3 separate regions of the Homo sapiens genome follow, and regions 1 and 3 are each linked to region 2. Evidence: promoter capture Hi-C in 16 types of primary human blood cells and fetal thymus (Javierre and others, 2016). All regions are on one chromosome and are shown on one strand. Each heading gives the region's core, a stretch centred on a gene start or on the middle of the fragment in contact. The rest is flanking DNA. Distances are from core to core; before and after follow the strand shown. Region 1 overlaps TMEM63B (transmembrane protein 63B). Region 2 holds the start of AARS2 (alanyl-tRNA synthetase 2, mitochondrial). Region 3 overlaps MRPL14 (mitochondrial ribosomal protein L14).

What was found. Contacts are between HindIII fragments. The CHiCAGO score rates a contact against its expected background, and 5 or more counts as called.
Region 1: a fragment that was not itself captured here is called in contact with the fragment with the promoter of AARS2 in region 2 in 1 of 17 cell types (total B cells); the score reaches 5.2 in total B cells.
Region 3: a fragment that was not itself captured here is called in contact with the fragment with the promoter of AARS2 in region 2 in 3 of 17 cell types (total B cells, naive B cells and erythroblasts); the score reaches 7.0 in total B cells.

The regions. Positions count from the first base shown.
Region 1 is chr6:44,130,761-44,134,351 of GRCh38, forward strand. All of the region lies in intron 1 of TMEM63B (transmembrane protein 63B), which reads left to right. Among named protein-coding and RNA genes, the nearest start is that of TMEM63B, 5.0 kb to the left of the region's middle. RefSeq lists a silencer at 401-560 and enhancers at 2,405-3,370, 2,793-2,962, 3,371-3,591. The HindIII fragment of the contact is 482 bases long and covers 1,594-2,075 here.
Region 2 is chr6:44,311,908-44,315,497 of GRCh38, forward strand. AARS2 (alanyl-tRNA synthetase 2, mitochondrial) reads right to left here and starts at 1,440. Exons shown (of 22, transcript NM_020745.4): 1 at 1,174-1,440; 2 at 165-356. The coding sequence starts at 1,416. LOC124901322 (a long non-coding RNA gene) reads left to right here. Exons shown (of 3, transcript XR_007059594.1): 3 at 2,244-2,640. RefSeq lists an enhancer at 1,185-1,744. The HindIII fragment of the contact is 8,838 bases long and covers 1-3,590 here.
Region 3 is chr6:44,114,563-44,117,957 of GRCh38, forward strand. It overlaps MRPL14 (mitochondrial ribosomal protein L14), which reads right to left. Exons shown (of 3, transcript NM_032111.4): 2 at 1,979-2,067. The coding sequence starts at 2,049. Among named protein-coding and RNA genes, the nearest start is that of MRPL14, 11 kb to the right of the region's middle. RefSeq lists an enhancer at 2,644-2,813. The HindIII fragment of the contact is 188 bases long and covers 1,745-1,932 here.

The DNA of each region.
Region 1 (3,591 bases), core at 585-3,084, 180 kb before region 2:
TTTCCCCTCGAGACAAGGTTTTGCTCTCTTGCCCAGGCTGGAGTGCAGTGGCATGATCATGGCTGACTGCAGCCTCCAACTCCTAGGCTCAAGGTATCTTCCCCACTTGGCCTTCAAAAGTGCTGAGATTACAGGGGTGAGCCACCCCACCCTGCCTACTACTACTTTTTTTTTTGAGATGGAGTCTCACTCTGTCGCCCAGGCTGGAGTGCAGTGGCATGATCTAAGGTCACTGCAACCTCTGCCTCCTGGGTTCAAGTGATTCTCCTGCCTCAGCCTCCCGAGTAGCTGGGACTACAGACGCATGCCACCACACCCAGCTAATTTTTGTATTTTTTTAGTAGAGACGGGGTTTCACTGTGTTGGCCAGGCTGGTCTCGAACTCCTGACCCTGTGATCTGCCCAGCTCGGCCTCCCAAAATGCTGGGATTACAGGTGTGAGCCACCGTGCCTGGCACCTACTACTACTTTTATGCTCACTTGTGGATATATTCTTGCCTTTCTCTCTGAAGTGGGTAGGGGTAGAGTAAGGATATTTGTATCTCTTTGTTACAGATTGGAAGACTGAGACTCAGGTTTCGTAGTAACAGAGCTCGCTTCCATCTTCCCCTCCTCCCCTCAGACCACATGGCCTTGCTTTGATCCAAAGCCCTAACTTAAATCTTGCCCAGTAACTCCACTGAAAAAGCTTATATCACTCCTGTAATCCCAGCACTTTGGGAGGCCGAGGTGGGCAGATCATGAGGTCAAGAGATCGAGACCATCCTGGCCAACATGGTGAAACCCTGTCTCTACTGAAAATACAAAAATTAGCTGGGCGTGGTGGCATGTGTCTGTAGTCCCAGCTACTCAGGAGGCTGAGGCAGGAGAATCCCTTGAACCCAGGAGGCAGAGGTTGCAGTGAGCCAAGATCGCGCCACTGCACTCCACTCTGGTGACAGAGCGAGACTCCGTCTCAAAAAAATACACAACAACCCCCCCAAAAAAAAGCTTATAAGTTATAGCTCTCCAACCCCCACCATGCACACACTCCTTAATGGTAAAATTAAAAAGTTAGCTAGAAGTAAAATGCTCCATCACTCTCTGGACACACCTCAACCAAAACCTCAATATCAGACTAGAGAAACTGGGATATAGCTGGTGCAGGCACCTCGTGGAGTGGAAGAACTGCCACCTCCCATCCCCAAGGTATTCTGCCTCAATGTCTTCCCTCTTCTCAGTTGCTCAGCCCAGTGCTGGCTTTGAGAGCAGCTGCCCTTGATGAAACTCAACCCAGCAACCCCACCCCCACAATTAAAAGCTTGGAGCAGCCCTGTCAACTGGCAGAGCTGCCAGCCCAGGCTCCACCCCTTACCTGTCCTGTCACTGTGCAAGTTGCTTCCCCTACTGGGTTCCTGCTTCCTCCCTGTAAAATGGGGATAGTGATCTGAGTGTGCCCTGCCTTCCTCCCATGCAGGTGGGAAGATTAATGCTGTTGTGGAGGGGAGAGTACTTTGTGACCCCAAGGAGGCGGACAGCAGAGGAGCATGGTGATTTCAGTTACTAACCATCTAGCTAGATCCTGTCCACCCTGCTGGGGCCACTTCATGTAGAAGCTTCCAAAATGCTCTACCTTTCTTTGGTGTGGAGAAGACAGGAGTTGATAGGAATGGTACTCTGGGGCTTGTTCTCATTTCATTCTGATCTGATGGAGCCTTGGAATTCAGAGAGAGAAACAGGCAAGGGGTGGGAATAGAGTGTTGAGATTGCTGGAGTACATTGGAGTTGAGAATTGAGAAAGGGGGACTAGTTAGAGTCCCCCCAACCCAAGATACCTATACCTACCTTTAACCTCCCATAGTGCCCCAGGGTTCTGTGCATCTTATGTTTACATACCCGGGCTCCCAGACACACCCATGTTCACACCCCCACTTCGAAGCCAACAACTCCCTTCATTTCCGTGGACTGCCATGCAGTCACCTAGCTCCTCCTGGACACAGGTCCACACATCAACACACATTTACATACCTGGACACACACATTTCCACAGCACCCACAGGTTCTCTGGCCTGAGAACATTTAATGAGCATTTATAAAGCTTCCATGGTCTGCCGAGTCCTGTTCTAGGAACATCAGAAAAGCACCGTGGTGCCCTGAAAATCATTCTAGCTTTAGAAAGAAGGTGAGCTAGGTTTGAGTCCTAGGTCCCTCATTTTATTAGCAGTGTGACCTTGGGAAAGTTACTTAACCTCTGAGGCCCTGTGCCCCCACCCTAAAATGTCAGTGACACTCAATTCAGGATCGTCGAGGATTAAATGAAATCATGTAATATATTATTCTTGAAACTGAGGGCACTGGACAAATGGTACCCAATACAATTACTAAATTAGTGTGTTTTTAAAGGCAGCTTGGACTGGAAAAGGAAGAGGCATAACACACCAGCACACACTCCTTTAGTCTTCCTAATCCAGGCTTTGCAGAGACTCCCTGGGACCAAGTGAAACACATAAACAACTCCATCCTCCCCTCCATCTGAGGGCTTCTGCCTCTTGCCCTGTGGTTGAAGTGTTAGGAAGAGGCAGGAGAAACCCTCTGAGTCCCCCTGGGGGCTAAGGGATGCTGCTCCCGAAGTTGCAGTCACTGTTTCTAGTTTTGTTGTTCTCTTTGGTTTTCCTTTTTCTTCCCTGAGGACCTCCTCCCCTGCTCCACAGCCCGCCCCCGAGGCAGAGCTTCAGTGTTGTCAGCAGAAGGGTCCCCCAGGGACCCCCCAGTAAAATGGGTGGGGCAGTGCTGCATCTGTTGAGGCCACACTTCTCCGCTATCCTGGGATCCTCCCCAGGGCCCCACTCTGCTCTGTCCCCAAGCACTTTGAGAACCCAGGCACTCAGGCTGGCTGTCCCTTTTCTCCTCCTGCCCACCCCATCCACTCTGAGCATCAATGCAGCCGGCCAGTTGCAGGCAACCAGGCAGCACCCTGGCTGCCCAGGCAGGCTAAGAGGCCCCCACCCACTCCCCCCTCCTTTGCCAGTGGAAAAGCTTGCCGTAGGGCATAGCTTTCCCAGCCTTCCCTGCTTCAGAGGCAGGAGCATGGCACTCTGGGAGTTGTAGTGCTCATAACACTCAGGCGATCCCTGTGCAAATAACTGGAGAGAGGACTATGGTATGGGGAAGAGAAATGAGAATAAGCAGGAGTGGCTGGGGCCAGGCAGGTAACTCAAACCCAGAAGTCCTACTATTTACTTGACTTCCTACTCTGACCCATCGTCGAACCTAAGCCAGTTATATTGAGTTCAAAACTCTAACCAAATGAAATCATGCCATTTTTTCTAATAGGCATAGAAAGAAAAGATCAGGATGAGGCAGCTGGCTCCTGACCCATTCTCCCCTGACGTGGAGACCCCTCATCTTACCCTTGAGTCCTCAGGCCTAAGACCCCTCCCTGTCTTCCCAGGCTCAGCTCCGCCCCCTGCCCTAAGACAGAGAGAATGAGAGTGTGGGGGTGGCGGCGGCAGGGGGGATTTAGATAGATGTTAGAAAATCACAGATACCTTCCAGCTTAATGAAACCAGCCTCCCCAGTCCAGGCCTGGCATCTAGACTGAGTTCCCCAGAC
Region 2 (3,590 bases), core at 190-2,689:
GGGACTTACAATCCAATCAGGGAGGTGAGGTAATTCCTGTTACACCGGCTCAACTAGCACTTTGCCTCCACATCTGGTATGAGGCCCTGCCTAAGCAGACAGTACAATGGAAACAGGACAAATTGACTCCCTTCTTGGCTGATCACTGATCCCCAGAGACTCACCTTAAAATATTCACCCCCAAAGGCCCAATTGCCAAGCATTTCAAAGAAGGTATGATGGGAAAGGTCTCGACCCACATCTTCCAGGTCGTTATGGTGTCCTCCAGCTCTCACACATTTCTGGCTGTTGGCCACACGTCGGAAGCCTGCCATCTCGCTTCGTGGATCCACGGTGCCCAGAAAGATTGGCTTGAACTGGAAGCACATAGAGTGGGGAGGGGGAGAGGGATATCCAATTTCTCAGTAGAAGGGAAATGTGGGGAGTGAGGATAGGGATGGCTGTTCAGACCGAAGGCTGACTGTGCCCCTGAGAGTGCAGTGTAATCTTGGTCTATGAGGACAAACTGGGAGCCTCGGGACAGCCATCTCTGGTGTGTGGGGAGCAGAGAAGAGGTAAACAAATCATGAACCGGAGACCCTCTGCCTAGTAAAATAGGCAAGGTAAAAGAAGGAGGAATGTGTTGGGAGCTGGAAATGGGACGCTGAAAGGTGGCATCCTCCGTCTCAGCTTCTTCAACCACACCCAATAACTTCAGGGAACAAAACTGAGACTCATTTAGTAGGGAGCCCAGACGGCCTCTAAGGTTAACTTATGCCGCCCCTATTTTACAGATGAGGACAATGAAGTCTAGAAAAGATGAGTGGTTGATAAAAACCAAAACCTTAGAGAATAGTACTCAGCAAACAATAGGTGATCAATAAACATTTAATGAAAGCGTTATCTTTATTTAAATAACGAATAAATGAAATCAGACTTCTCCCTCGGGATTCCACTCCAGCCATTTCTGGACCTAATACTCAATCCCAATCCAGAAGTTCCCAGCTCAAGCCCTCCCCAAGCCCTCCCTATACTCTGAGCGCCGTACCCCCATCACTTTACCCAACCAAGCACCGCCCTCTTTCCCCAAAAGCTACGAACTCCGCCTCTCGCTTCTTTTGCCCAATCCTGCAGCGTCTTTCTCACCAGAAAACTCACGAACTCCGCTCCCTATCAGTATGGTTCGGCCCTCACCTGGTTCATGCCCGCATTGACAAAAAGCAAACTGGGGTCGCCGCGGGGCCGCACGGAAGCGGAGGGCACCAGCCGGTGGCCATGGCGGTCCCGAAAGAAGTTCAGAAAGGCGGCCCTCACGGCCGAGGCCTTGGCTGCAGGGGGCTCCGATGAGAGCGGCCGATGGCTGAGGCCCCGCCATGCGGGCGACCTTCGAATGGCCCGCCGCAGCCTCCGGGCTGCAGCTGCCACTGACGCTGCCATCGTAGCTCCGGGCAGTGACTTTACGTGGTCAAAGAGTGACGAGGGAAGGAAGCCAGGCGTTTCCTACAGCGGCCCCTGGCGGTAGGAGGACTCAGGGGGCGGCCTCTGCCGCCGGGGTGGAAGCGATCGATTGGGTCGCTGGCAGAGTCTAGCACAGCGCCCGGCACATAGTAGGCTCTTAATTCATTCGGCATTAAGCAAATATTCATTGAGAGCCTACTATGTGCTAGGCATTGTTTTGGGCTTTTAGGGTACAAAATTGACAAAATGCCCTGCCCACTGAAATCCGTATTCTAGCAGTAATTGCTGTTGTGCTTATTAGTTTTGCAAAGTTACAGATGGGGTTGCAATAAACAGGTGTGGATTCAACTTCGTGTGTGTGTGTGTGTGTGTGTGTGTGTGTTTTGTGTGTGTTTTTCCAGGCTGAGGGAAGAAGGCAGAGAGTGACAGGGGAGTATCAGCATTCATTCAAGAGGTATTCAACAAATATTTATTGAAGACCTAGTATGTGCTAGGCACTGTTCTAGGCATTTGCCAGTTTCCTTGGACCTTGGCATCAGACACGGCCATTTTTGCCCGTGAAGCAGGAGTCTATAGGAGAACACAGAAGCCAAACAGCATCTGCTATATTATTAATTGCCTAACATTTGGTCTTCTCATTTGCCTGGGGATCAGAGAGAATCCAGGTCGTCAAGGCAGGAGGAAGCTGTTGGCTAATAGCTGCAGAGATTTCACTCTCTAAGCCTTCTAATGCCCTAAGGTTTTGTGTGTTTTCGTTTAGGATAAGAGATATACCTGTTCTACCTCTCCCTTCTGTCTTTCCATAGTAACAGCTGTGACCCTGAAGCCAACAGGCCCTTGTGGATGCAATCAGGGTGCTCATGGGGCTTCTCATGATGCCCTTGGCTTGGGAAATTAAACAGATTGGGAAGACAGAAGAGAATCTGCCAAAGCTAAAACTCAATAGAGGTTCCAGAGCTGAGGTCAGTGTAATAACCGAGAAGGCCTTAGCCATCAGGGTGGTCTCTTTTAGCCACGATTCTGTGTGTGTTAAGTTATTTGGGGTCTTTGTATACATAGTTTCTCTGCGGAATCTACATTGGACTTGAATTTCTATAGTGATAGTAAATTCTTAACTTTGTGTTCTGACAGCACCTATAACTCCTATTCCATGATCCCCTTTTTCTCCCTTTGCCCACATAGATTAAAGGTGTTGTTTTGAAAGTGTGTTTGGCCTGTTTTGGTTTTTCCAGTGTTTCTGGAACAGAAAGCTAAAGCCAGCTGGGGATTTCTGTGTGATTAATGACTTTTTTATTTTTTTGAGATGGGGTTTCACTCTTGTTGTGCTGGCGTGCAATAGCACAATCTCGGCTCTCTGCAACCTCTGTCTCCCGGGTTCAAGCAATTATCCTGCCTTAGCCTCCTGAGTAGCTGGGATTACAGGCATGCATCACCACGCCCGGCTAATTTTGTATTTTTAGTAGAGATGGGGTTTCTCCATGTTGGTCAGGCTGGTCTTGAACTCCCGACCTCAGCTGACCTGCCTACCTCAGCCTTCCGAAGTGCTGGGATTACAGGCATGCACCACTGCGCCCAGCTGAGATTGATGATCTTTAGACAAGACTGTGAAATTATTTCCCAAACTGAGATGGGAGTGTTTTGCCATACAAACCTGGCAGGGCCTCTACTCAGTACTGACATCAACTTTTTTTTTTTCAGATTTTGCCCAGAAAGTCATTGTGTTACATTAGAAACTCCAAACATGGATCTAGTGTGGAGCCATATAATTTTTTTAAAACAGCTTTATTGAAATATAATTTACATGCTATACAATTCGCCCATTTAAATAAAGTATACAGTTCAATGCCTTTTAGTATATTTACATAGAGTTGCCCATCCATCACCACAATCACTTTTAGAACATTTTCATTACTTCCAAATAAAACCCCAAATCCTTTAGCCATTAACCCCCAATCGTCTCATCCTTCCTAGCCCTTGGCAACCACTAATCTACCTTCTGTCTCTACAGACTTGTATATTCTGGACATTTCATGTAAATGGAATCATGTAATATGTGGTTCTTTGTAACTGGCTTCTTTCACATAAAATAATATTTTCAAGGTTCATCCATGTTGTAGCATGTACCATGGATTTTTAGAAAAATGTTTTTAGTT
Region 3 (3,395 bases), core at 589-3,088, 200 kb before region 2:
CCACTGCCTATCCTGAAAAACCTGCTTCCCCAGAATACACCATTCCCTAATTTTCTTTTTTTTTGAGACGGAGTCTCGCTCTGTCGCCCAGGCTAGAGTGCGGTGGCGCCATCTCAGCTCACTGCAAGCTCCACCTCCCGGGTTCACACCATTCTCCTGCCTCAGCCTCCCAAGTAGCTAGGAATACATGCGCCTGCTGCCATGCCCAGCTAATTTTTTGTATTTTTTAGTAGAGACAGGGTTTCACCGTGTTAGCCAGGATGGTCTCGATCTCCTGACCTCATGATCCGCCCGCCTCGGCCTCCCAAAGGGCTGAGATTACAGGCGTGAGCCACCGCGCCCGGTCCCCTAATTTTCTTATTTACATGTTGCTGGGAACTAGAAGATATGGGTAAGTTTACTAAGGGAATTCTCTGACACAACATACCAGAAACTGGTAATAAGTCAAGGTAACAATCTTCTGTTTTAATACATTTTTTCTCATTAGAAAAAAAAATTTTAGAGAGTACTTATTGAAGGCAGACAAGGTATTATTAAGCAAGCTGATTACAGTGGGATTCCTATTTTCCTGATGCTAGCACCTGATGCTGGTGTTTCCGCAGGGTAATCCTAGGACCTCTTCTCTCGTTTTTTATGCCTACTCTGGGCAATCTTACCCATTAGCATTGCTGCCAACTAGTAAATTCCATCTCCAGCCCCGCCTCTCTTCTATATTCTAGTTCTATATATTTCCACTCTCCTCAACTCCCTACAACATGCTCTATAGATACTGCAAACTCAGTAGGTCCCAAACTCATCTCACTGCCTCCCCTTGCAAACCTCCGCCTGCTGCTACACTTATCTAGACGATGGCTTCTCCAGCAGTACCAGAAGCCAAGCCATAAACCTCTCTCCACCAACATGAACTGGCCACCAAGTCCTGTTAATATCACCCCCTAAGCACCTATGTCCTTTCTCTCCAATCCCGCCAACAACTTCCTTCATTTAGCAGCTCACTCTCCTACACCAAGACTGTGACATTAGTGTCCTAGTTGGTTCCCATTGCACTTCACTTTGCCAACAAAGAGCTCTCTTTAGAATATAAAAGTGATGCTACTCCCCACCATCTACACTGTCAACAACCTTGTCCCAATTTACCTACCTTCTAAGGCTACACATCCTACCACTCTGGGCAGGAGAACCAGGAACCACTTCCCCAAGCACACCCTGCCTCCCAATTCTCCCTGGAGGCCTAGACAGGATCTGCCCCCATCTCCCTTTTGAGAAGACTGCCTCCACTCTTTCTCCTCCTCTTCCTCCACTAGCAGCTCCTATATGACGCCTTCCAAAGCACTGTACAATCCTCTATTATAATATTCTATCACATTTTCTTAGAGTTACTTATTTTCAAGTTTGCTCCTGTGGCTGACAGTGAGAATTCTTTCAGGACAGAAAGCAACTCTCTTTCATCTCTGTATGGCCAACCCCAGGTGCGGTGCTCAGGAAATGCCTGTGGGATGAGGGCATGACGGGGCCAGGAGGCATGTCTGCCAACAAGCGTGCCTCCTGTGCTCTCCTGGCTTAGCATCTACAAGGAGGGGAGGGTGTCACACTTCTATCATGCTCAAGTTCTTGGTAATAAGCATGTATTATTTTTGTAATTAAAAAAATTCCGTTTTTAAAAGGATTTTAATGCTCTAGGGGAATGATAGGGTTGAGAGATGTCAGATTCACTGTAAGAGTCTTGCAAGGACTGAAGAGTAAAAGCTTCCGCCATATGCCATTCCCCATCACACTTCTAACAGCAACATCACCTCTTTACCTATCCCCCATCCTGTGACCAGACCAACCAGGCCAGCTCAGCCTGATCACTTTAGCTTTCCCCAACCCCATGCCCACCTCCCTGAGTTTTTACTCCTGTTCTAGTCACCGTAATACCCAGCCCTGATAGGAAGCTTACACAAAGACACAGTTTTAAGAACTTAATGGGAAAAGTTACCTGAAACAGTGATGGCTCAGCACTCTGCTTACACAGGTGAAGGGGCCCCAGAGCCCAGTAAAGAAAGCCATGGGATCCCAAGATAGATCCTGCAGGAAAAACGAGAGGGGGAAAAATTGGTTTCTAAGTCAGAGCCCTTAAAGCCAGTTTTCTTTGGGGACTTGTGTGGGAGATGGCACTTCCAGCACAAGATCATTAGTCACAAAATATAAATCTTAGTGGTTAAAGGATACACAGATGATTAGACAGAGCTGTAGCTCCGATTTTGCTGATTCACATTCTAACTCTGGGGTTGGAGAGGGAGAATGGCCCACAACAGCTTCTGCTATAAAAAAATACAACAGCACGGAGAATGCCTTCCTTATTATATCACTTCCACAGGCAGGAGGAAAATATGAGCCCTTGGTTATAAACCCAGCCAGGGACTTCTTCTCGAGTCCTCCATAGAGGAAAAACTGCACACTATTGCCCTTTTTGATATTCATATGCCTTCTGAAACCAGCACTTTAACTCCCTAAAAGAAAGTAAATTATCTAAGCAGCCACCCAAGTTGTCTATCACTACATCACCTTTCCCCCAAATGTAAAGGCCAGAACACCTGTACAGCTCAAGGCCAGCAAAGCAAAGCCAAAGGCTGCTCTTGCCAAGTCAAAGACCAAAGTCTTTATTTGGGTCAGTCTCCCAAACACTGTAACATGGAAAACTGACCTACACCATACTACAGCTGAAAGTGGGCTTTGGGAAACCAACTTGAAGAGTTAGCTAAAAGAGCAAACACCAACCCAAGACTTGTGACTCCAGTTTTCAGAATCTCAACCCTGTTGCTCCCTAGCACTAACAAATATGGAGGCTGCCAGTGCCCTGAAACACCTGAACATCACTTCAGAGCATGCTTCAGAAAGGCCTGTAGCCAGCTGCAAAACACACCTGTTTTTCCACCCAAACGTTTGGCAGCAGAGGTGCCCATTCAAGAGGTCTGCCGAGAAAAGCCTCTACACTGTAGTATTTACACACAGCTTTGCTATGCACAAGTTCAAACCACCTCAGATAAGATTTTATTTAATAAGAATGTTAGGGTGGGGCAGGGGAATCCACTCCTCCCCAGGAATACCTAGACACTCCATACTTTTTTTTCTTTCCTTGAGACAAGTCTTGCTCTGTCACCCATGCTGGAATGTAGTGGTGCAACTGCAGCTCACTGCAGTCCCGAACTCCCCAAGCTCAGGTGATCCTCCCACCTCAGCCTCCCAAGTAGTCAGGACCACAGACATGCACCAGGACGCCTGGCTAATTTTTTGTGTTTTTTTTTTTTTTTTTTTTTTTTTTGTAGAGATGATGGTCTCACTATGTTGCCCAGGCTGGCCTTGAACTCCTGAGTTCATGCAATCCTCCCGCCTCAGCCCCGCAAAGTGCTGGG